3 separate regions of the Homo sapiens genome follow, and regions 1 and 2 are each linked to region 3. Evidence: promoter capture Hi-C in 16 types of primary human blood cells and fetal thymus (Javierre and others, 2016). All regions are on one chromosome and are shown on one strand. The core of a region is centred on a gene start or on the middle of the fragment in contact, and the rest is flanking DNA. Distances in the headings are between cores, read along the strand shown. Region 1 overlaps AHI1-DT (AHI1 divergent transcript). Region 2 overlaps AHI1-DT (AHI1 divergent transcript). Region 3 holds the start of PDE7B-AS1 (PDE7B antisense RNA 1).

Region 1 (2,816 bases), core at 201-2,700, 370 kb before region 3:
CCTGCACTGCAATTGCCTAGGATTTTCGCCTGGAGGCACATTTTAGACTGCAGAGCAGAGAGGGAGATTCCAAGCAAGGAAAAGTTGTCTTATATAATTGAGGAGGCAGAACTTGAAGTTTAGGAAGTCTGGTGTCTGTAAATGGTGAGGCAGAGATCTACAGAGTAGGGAGCTACACAGAAAACGGGCTTGAGAAATATACACAGTGGGTCCCATGAGTCTGAAAAATATCAAGACAATGCACAGCGTGAAATGCTACAAGGCTGGGCAAAGAACAACTGTGGAGTTATGAGAGGAGCGTATTTCCACAATACACACAGACTGCGGAATCATTTGCATTACCACCAGATAGCATGGAGAGCCCTCATTGAGCCTCTTTACTTGGAGAATGCAGTAAAGACTCCATCCAGAAGGACTACTCTGCAGTAGTGGGCTAACCCATTCCTAGAGGAAAGGTTTCTCTAGCCCTGCCCAAGCACAACTTAAAAGCAAGTCTCAAAACCATCTAACTAAATACTTATATTAGAAAAGAAGTAGTATCAACAATCAATGATCTAAATTTATTAGAGTCTAAATTCCCACCACAAGAGGCTGGAAAAGAGAAGAAAAGTTAAACCAAAGTAAGCAGAAGGAAGAGAATAAAAATGATAACAAAAATAGAAAACCCAAGACAAACTGAGAAAATTTATGAAACCCCAAGCTGGGTTTTTGACAACATCAGTAATATTGGTAAATATCTAGCAAAACTGATACAGGAAAAAAAGGGAAGACAAAAAATTATCAGTCAAGAATTAAAGAGGGGACATCATTAACTATCCTATAGATTTTACCCAGATAATAAGGGAATATTAGTAACAAATTTATAATGACAAAGTTGGATTGTTGGGAAAAGCATCCTGTGGTAGCAGTAAGTAGCCATCCAACAAAAGCCACTATAACAATAACAAAAACACATCATTCATTAACCAATTTTATGTGGCAGGTCCTGGTTAAAGACAGTGGAAAGAAACCAAAACCAACTAAAGAAGAAAAGCAAGGATTATTTATTCAGTGTTTGCTATAGCAAGGGGAGTCTGCCACTGTCACTTGTGTTTTGGGAGAGAATCAAAGGCAAGCAGAGGAGTGGGAAGCTTCATAGTGAGAAATAAAGGGAAGGCTTCAATCATACCCTGACTGGAGGCTGTTGTCTTGGGGAAGTTGGAGGTAGGCTAACCAGAAGCAGAACATCCTCTGTGATTGCTTAGGGGTGCATATTTGGCTTTCTCTGGTTTGTCCTAAGTTTGGAGTGGGGACAGATATTGGGAAAGCTGTCAGTTATGAATCAAGTCCTGGCCATTTTGAGCCGATTGTTACAGAAGTTTTTGCTTAGCTTCCTATATTGTTTCTACAGATAGCAGCCTGACTTATAGCAGGCTGGCTTCCTGGACTATTTATTGAAGTTAACAGATTGGCTTTCTGGACAAGATTCTGGAGGTTGATGGTCAAAGTTCTATTTTTATACATGGATTAGTTCATGTCAGTTTGTATATTCAGTCCCTCAGTAATAAATGATATAGTGATACCCAATTCATTCTGAAAGCATAATGAAAAGAGTGACCCAGTCTTCCTGGGAGCATCCGAGAAGCCTTTACAGTGAAGCTAATATTTGAAGTTGCCTTAAATTCTGAGGCAAAAAGAAGATGAGAAGAAATTGCTACCAGAGATGACCACATTAAAAAAAATAATAAGCAGGTGGGTGGGTGGTGTGTTTGAAGATTAGTGACCTTTTAAAGAAGCTTGAACATAGGCGGGTGGAGGCAGACAGCCAGGAAAGAAAGGTGGAACCAAAATGTAATGGACTTTGAGTGTTGTTCTAAGATGTAATCTTATGGGCTCCAAGGGAGACAGGATGCTTTAAAGCCAATAGTTATAATATTAGACTTGTATTTTAGGAACATGATCCTTTTGATAGTGGAAAATATGCATGGGGTGGGTCAGGAAACTGGAAACTTGCACACAAGCTAGGATGGTATTTTACCAATTGGAGGAAGTGGTGGGAAAGGCCTTGATTTGGGCAGGGACGGTGGGGATACAGCAAAGGGCAGATAGAACAACCAGGGCAACATTTTGGACATGCAGTGCGTGCTCCGTAAATATCTGTTATATTTTTAAGTGAATAAATGGGACATTTAGGAAGTGGAATGGGTTAGGTTTGGTGACTGATTGGATATTATAAGGACAGGAAATAGTCAAGAACTACTAAAGTTTTTAGCTTCAGTGACTGATTGTATAGCAATGCTATCAGCCAAAGTGTGAAAAATAGGGGTGTGGCAGTTTATGAGTGAGGATGCCAAGTTTCATTTGGGGCATGTCTTTAGGGCTTATAAAATTGGAATCAGGGTTTGGGGGGGTCACTGATGGCACATAGGTAATAGCTGGAATTATGCAAAGAGGTGGGATTGGTCAGAAAGACTTTCCAAAGCTAGGGGAGAGGGTCCAGTCCTTGAATGCACTGATTCTCACTTTTTAAAATTATTTATTTATTTTTTTTGAGCCAGAGTCTCACCCTGTTGCCCAGGCTGGAGTGTAGTGGTATGATTTCGGCTCACTGCAACCTCTGCCTCCCAGGTTCAAGCAATTCTCATGCCTCAGCCTCCTGAGTAGATGGGACTATGGGCACATGCCCAACTAATTTTTGTATTTTTAGTAGAGATGGGGTTTGGCCCTGTTGGACAGGTTGGTCTCGAATTCCTGACCTCAAGTGATCCACATGCCTCAGCCTCTCAAAGTGCTAGGTTTACAGGCATGAGCCACCATGCCAGCCTGCACTGATTTTT
Region 2 (2,959 bases), core at 61-2,560, 490 kb before region 3:
TTCTAATCTAGAGCTAATATGATATAATTTACAAATGTTCTGGTTTTAATTTTAAACAAATTATTCTGCCTGACCCCATGTTTTTCATTGCACACTAATATTGATATTTGACACATCAGATTATTAGATATTCATAACATTTGATTCCTTTGGCTATCATGGATCATTCTTTTATTCAGTAAATATTTATCGAAAGCCTTAAATGAGCCAAACTCTATTCTGATTCTGGGAATATAGTTGGTAACAAGACAAAAAAGATCACTGTTCTTGTGGAGTGAATATTCTCATGAGGAAAGAGAGACAGTATTCAAAATGTAAGAGGAATATGTTAGATAGTGATGAGTGCTCTGATGACAATAAGGCAGAGTCTGATGATAGGGAGGGACTTGGGGGCTCCTTTGGAGTGAGTAATCCAAGAAGACTGGAATGGCAAGCAGGGACCACTGCTGTAAAATCAGTGAAAGAGCATCCCAGATACAGGGAACTGACAGAGCTGCAGTCAACAACCTAGAACCAGGCTGTTCAAGGCAGAGAATGCACGAATCACAGATTGCTTTATCTAGACAAAATAATCAAAAGATATCCTGGCATTCCCCCTTCTGTTGGTGAGGCTCCAAGACCAACCTCACAAGACAAATGGTAAGACTGGTTTGTTTGGTAAGACTGGTTTTATTAACTACTCATAAAGATGGCAGAAGCAACAGAATTGACTTTCTTGCATAGTAAACAGGAGACTAGTCTGTGAGTGACCTGGAGAAGCTTAGTACGGCTGTGGCCAGTTTGATAGTTAATAGGTTAATTCTGATAATTATCAGCTGAGTTGATAGTTAATCCTATATTGAAATCCTGGAGGAGAAAGAATACAAAAGAGATGACATGGAAACCAGCTTCTTGTTCGCACTTGTTACTGAGAAAACACACTGCATAACACACAGGTTAAACGCTGTTTGCTGTTCATGGGGCTTTAATTGGAGGGTCACTCTTCTGGATGTTTGTATCACAAGTGCATTCCAGTGGCACTGGCCCAAGCTGTTATTTCCACCTTGTAGCTCATGTGGTTTTGCTATGGTGCTGATGTGCGTAAATGTGGTTGTTTCTGTGGTTTTCTTACAGGTCCTGGAGAATTACATATCATGCAAAAGGTTATAGGTCAGCTTATCTTTGCAGATATAGAACTAGGTAAAACTCCCCTAAAATACCGGTGCTTAGCAAAGTAACCTTGCAAGTTTACTTTGCCCTTCAATGATCAACAACAAAAACCAACCAACTAAACAAACAAAAATTAGAACTCATTAGCTTAACGATCCATCATTCATTAATACTCTTGAGCTTATGGAGAAAACAACCAATATATAAAATATTCTTCAATTGTACCTGCTGCTTTTATTTCTTTTAGAAGTATTTTTTTAAGCTGTACTTTTCCTAAAGCCTGAGAATATTTTGTGTTATTTTTGATGCCAGAAAGGATAATATAATACACTGTATGTCTTTAATTCGTTGTAACTGGTGGAAAAAGAGAAAGATAATTGAAACCTTAAAACAGCAGAGATAAGTGATCTAAGTTGTAAATCTGTTAGTAATTCAAGAACATTTAGAAATATCTCCTGATAAGGTTAATTGAAGGAATATTCTAATGAATGTAGTAAATTAGTTGTTCCCAATCTCAAAATCTTTTAATATTCTGAAAGAAATTAAGATTTTAGTGAGAGATATTCCACTTTATGGAACTACTTCTTTCTCCCTTTATCTCTTTATGGAAAATTCTATCTTAAGGAGCAAGGTGAATCTTTCTTGTTCTCTTTTACTGCAAAATATTTGTTTTTAATATGTAACTAACCTGCACATTGTGCACATGTACCCTAAAGCTTAAAGTATAATAATAGTAAAATAAAAAAAAATTGTTTTTAAAGCAAAACAAACTTACATAGAATCAATAATTTCTGTTATTAAATTATAGAATGGGAAGATGTATTGCTTATTGTGATGACCCTCAACCCTGGCTGCACATTAGAATCTCCTGGAATGGGGCTTCCAAACCTTAGTGTGCTTGTGAATCATCTAGGGAGTTTGTTAAAATGCAGATTTTGATTTAGGACTTCTGGGGTAGGACCTGAGAGTCTGCGTTTATAACAAACTCACAAGTGATGTTGATGCTTGATTAGCCTGTTCTTTCATTGCTATAAAGAAATACCTGAGACTGGGTAATTTATGAAGAAAAGAGGTTTAATTGGCTCCCAGTTATGCGGGCTTTGCAGGAAGAATGATGCTGGCATTTGCTCAGCTTCTAGGGAGGCCTCAGGAAGCTTCCAATCATGGCAGAAGGTGAAGGGGGAGCAGGCACATCACATGGCAAAAGCAGGAGCAAGTGAGAGAGAGTGGGCCAGGGGAGGTGCCACACACTCTAAAATAACCAGATTCCATGATAACTCACTATTACAAAGACAGCACCGAACCATGAGGGATCTGCCCCCATGATCGAAACACCTTCTACCACGCCCCACCTCCAGCACTGGGGATTACAATTTAACATGAGATTTGGTTGGGCACAAATATCTGAACTATATCCTGCCCTGCACCTCCCAAATCTCATGTGATTCTTACATTGCAAAATACAATCATGCCTTCCCAACAGTCCCTTAAAGTCTTAACTCATTCCAACATTAACTCATTCCAAGTCCTTAACTCATTCCAACATTAACTCAAAGTCCAAAGTCTTGCCTTGAGACAAGGCAAATCCCTTCCACCTATGAGCTTGTAAAATAAAAAAAAAGTTAGTTACTTCCAAGATACAATGGGAGTATAGGCATTGGGCAAGTATTCCCATTCCAAAAGGGAGAAATCGGCCAAAAGAAAGGGGCTACAGGTCCCATGAAAGTTTGAAACCCAGCAGGGCAGTTGTTAAATCTTAAAGCTCTAAAATAATCTCCTTTGACTTCATTTTCCACATCCAGGGCACACT
Region 3 (2,867 bases), core at 209-2,708:
TCTGTAGCCAACCTCAGCCTTCACCTCAGCATTGCACAAAGTTCAGAATCACTAACATATCAGAAAGGTTGGACAAGAGGAAAAGTAAACTGGAAACACACACACACGTGTGTATACATAAGTTTAATTCTGAAGTATTGAGAATTTTATTTTCAAAGTGCTAGAAAGGCAACAGAGAGATAGTTCATTTCACCATTACAGAAACACCAAGAAATTATAAACTTCTCTGGATGTCAGTTTTCTTACTGGAAAAATTATGTTAAAATTATATCACTCTAGCCAAGTGTAGTGGTGCATGCCTGTAGTCCCAGCTACTAGGGAGGCTAAGGTGGGAGGATCGCTTGAGGCCAAAAGTTCGAGGCTTCACTGAGCTATGATCACACCACTGCACTCCAGCCTGGGCAACTGAGCAAGATTCCACTCAATAAATTAATAAATGAGTGCAGCATTCTAATGTTTTAAGGATTAAATGACATGATCATATAACAATGCCTAACAAGGTACACAGTGCAGTAACAAGTAAATGTATTTTAGCTTTTTTCCTTGGTTTCCATTAACATTTTTTTCCTTCAGTTAGTCATTCTAAAAATATTTATTAAGCATCTATTATGTTTTAAGAATTAAATGAGGTGACCCTACAACAGTGCCTTAAAAGGTACACAGCACAAAAACTAAATATATTTTAGCTTCTTCCCTCAGTCCCCTTTAACATTTTTTTCATTCAGTCAGTCATTCTACAAATATTTATTGAGCATTTATTATGTAGCAGGCATCATAATTTGTCTTGAATATATAATGGCAAATACAATAAACACAGTTCCTGCCCTTAATGGGGAAAACAGAAAATAAATAGGCGGGGAGGCGAGGAGAGAGAAAGACAAATCGAAATTGTCCTAAGTTCTGTGAAGGACCTAAACAGGGTACAGGGAGAGGAAATGGTGGGAGAGGGGCACCTGGTTAGATAGCTCATGGCATAGCTGATACTTTAATTTTGTTTTTTAAGTAGAGATGAGTTCTTGCTGTGTTGCCCAGGCTGCTCTTGAACTCCTGGGCTCAAGCGATCCTCCTGCCCTGGCCTACTAAAGTGCTGGGATTCTGGGTGTAAGCCACCTTGCCCAGCCCTGTTTATTTTTCTATTGATCTTAAGAAAGAAAAAGATGTCTTCTAATAACTATTTTACCTTAATCAGTTTTAAGACAAGCTTTGCAGAGCTCCATGACCCTCTGAAGAGACCGTGGCCACCTTGTAGGTTAGAGTATTTCGGACAGATGGCTGTACTACTGAGAGCTTTTCTGGACATGGCCGTTCTGGCTAACTTTCATCTTGTCATTACATTTCCTTTTCTGAGAAAGGTTGCAAGGGTGGTTTTGACAGAGTGATGCTGTTGGTATTTAGAATCCTGACTTTCTTGATCCTTTTCGGTGGAGCTGCGGGACACATGTGCGATGGAAACTGGCCTGGTTGCCATGGTGGATAGTGTTCTGACAACAGTCACATGGGTCAGGTGTCCGTTTTGGATCTTTCAGGCCTGTCAGCAGCTCCTGATAAAGCTAGCCATGTGGTTTTTCTTGGCTCACCTGTATATCCTGGTAGGAACAGCTAAGAGCCACTCAACGCACCCTTCTCTTTTTGGAGAAACCCCAGGGAGTTGTGTTGCTTGGGGCTGGGCCGCTTGGAGACCATGTTCTTTGTCTTTTTGGCCTGCTCTCGGGGCTAAGGAGCATTGATGGAATATCTGAGATGGTGGCGTCGGCAGGGATGGCCATGCTGAAGTCTGTTCATATCACACAACTAGGGCCACAAGCAAAGTCCTCCATCTGAATGACATTCAGGGACAGTCCATAAACTCAACGTGTGCACAGAGTGCCTCCGTACGCCATGCATTGTGACAGGTCCTGGGGTAACAGATCTGAAAGACTCCTTCTTTGTGTGTAAAGAACATGATTGGGTTAATTAAGTAAAAGTGAATATTTTCTTTACTGAGTCATAAAATTACGGGCATATGTCTTAATCAGCTAAGGCTGTCATAACACAGCACCATAAACTCAATGGCTTAAACAACAGAAACTGATTTTCTCACAGTCTTACAGGCTGAAAGTCCAGGATCAAGGCATCTGTGGAGTTGGTTTCTTCTGAGGCCTCTCCCCTCGGCTTGTAGATGTCACTTCTATGGTCTTCCCTCTGGGCCTGTGTCCTAATTTTCTCTTCATACAAGTGCACTAGTCATAATGGATTAGGGCCTACTCCAGTGGCCTCATCTAACTTAACTGCCTTTTAAAAGACCCCATCTCCATATAGGTCACATTCTGAGGTGCTTGGGTTAGGATTTTAACATACGAATTTGGCAGGGGACACACTCTAGCCCATAACAGCATTTTTACAGCCACACATAGTAAAAATCTGGAAATACACCACCACATGTATCAGAGTATAAGTGGCAAAGGTTGATCATGATACGTATCTCTCAGTTGAGAATTTCAGCGTGATTTCTAAAAACTTGTTGTGAAAGTACAATGCGCAGAAAACTGAAATTTCACCAAAAGTCCCATATCTGAAGCAAATAAAAAAATTTAGTTCCCATATTCTTTCCAATAGAAATAATTCCTTCGTGGAGAATTTATGCCTATCTCGTTCCTATGACAAAAAGGAATTTGGCCAGCCTGGCCAACATGGTGAAACCCTGTCTGTACTAAAAATACAAAAAAATGAACTGGGCACGGTGGCACACACCTGTAATCCCAGCTACTTGGGTAAAAGAATTACCTGAGGTAAAAGAATCATTTGAACCCAGGAGGTGGATGTTGCAGTGAGCCAAGATCGCACCACTGCACTCTATCCTGGGTGACAGAGAGACCTTGTCTCAAAAA

The links. The method cuts DNA at HindIII sites, captures the fragments that hold promoters and counts their contacts. A CHiCAGO score of 5 or more calls a contact.
Region 1: a fragment that was not itself captured here is called in contact with the fragment with the promoter of PDE7B-AS1 in region 3 in 4 of 17 cell types (total B cells, naive B cells, naive CD4 T cells and 1 more); the score reaches 6.6 in total B cells.
Region 2: a contact is called between a fragment that was not itself captured here and the fragment with the promoter of PDE7B-AS1 in region 3, in 1 of 17 cell types (total B cells). The highest score is 5.3, in total B cells.

Annotation. Positions count from the first base shown.
Region 1 is chr6:135,697,983-135,700,798 of GRCh38, forward strand. All of the region lies in intron 5 of AHI1-DT (AHI1 divergent transcript), which reads left to right. Among named protein-coding and RNA genes, the nearest start is that of LINC02524, 65 kb to the left of the region's middle. The HindIII fragment of the contact is 645 bases long and covers 1,129-1,773 here.
Region 2 is chr6:135,585,980-135,588,938 of GRCh38, forward strand. The region is part of intron 2 of AHI1-DT (AHI1 divergent transcript); the gene reads left to right. Among named protein-coding and RNA genes, the nearest start is that of LINC02524, 47 kb to the right of the region's middle. The HindIII fragment of the contact is 1,106 bases long and covers 758-1,863 here.
Region 3 is chr6:136,071,369-136,074,235 of GRCh38, forward strand. It overlaps PDE7B-AS1 (PDE7B antisense RNA 1), which reads right to left and starts at 1,459. Exons shown (of 4, transcript NR_149042.1): 1 at 1,181-1,459. The region is part of intron 2 of PDE7B (phosphodiesterase 7B); the gene reads left to right. The HindIII fragment of the contact is 8,353 bases long and covers 1,200-2,867 here.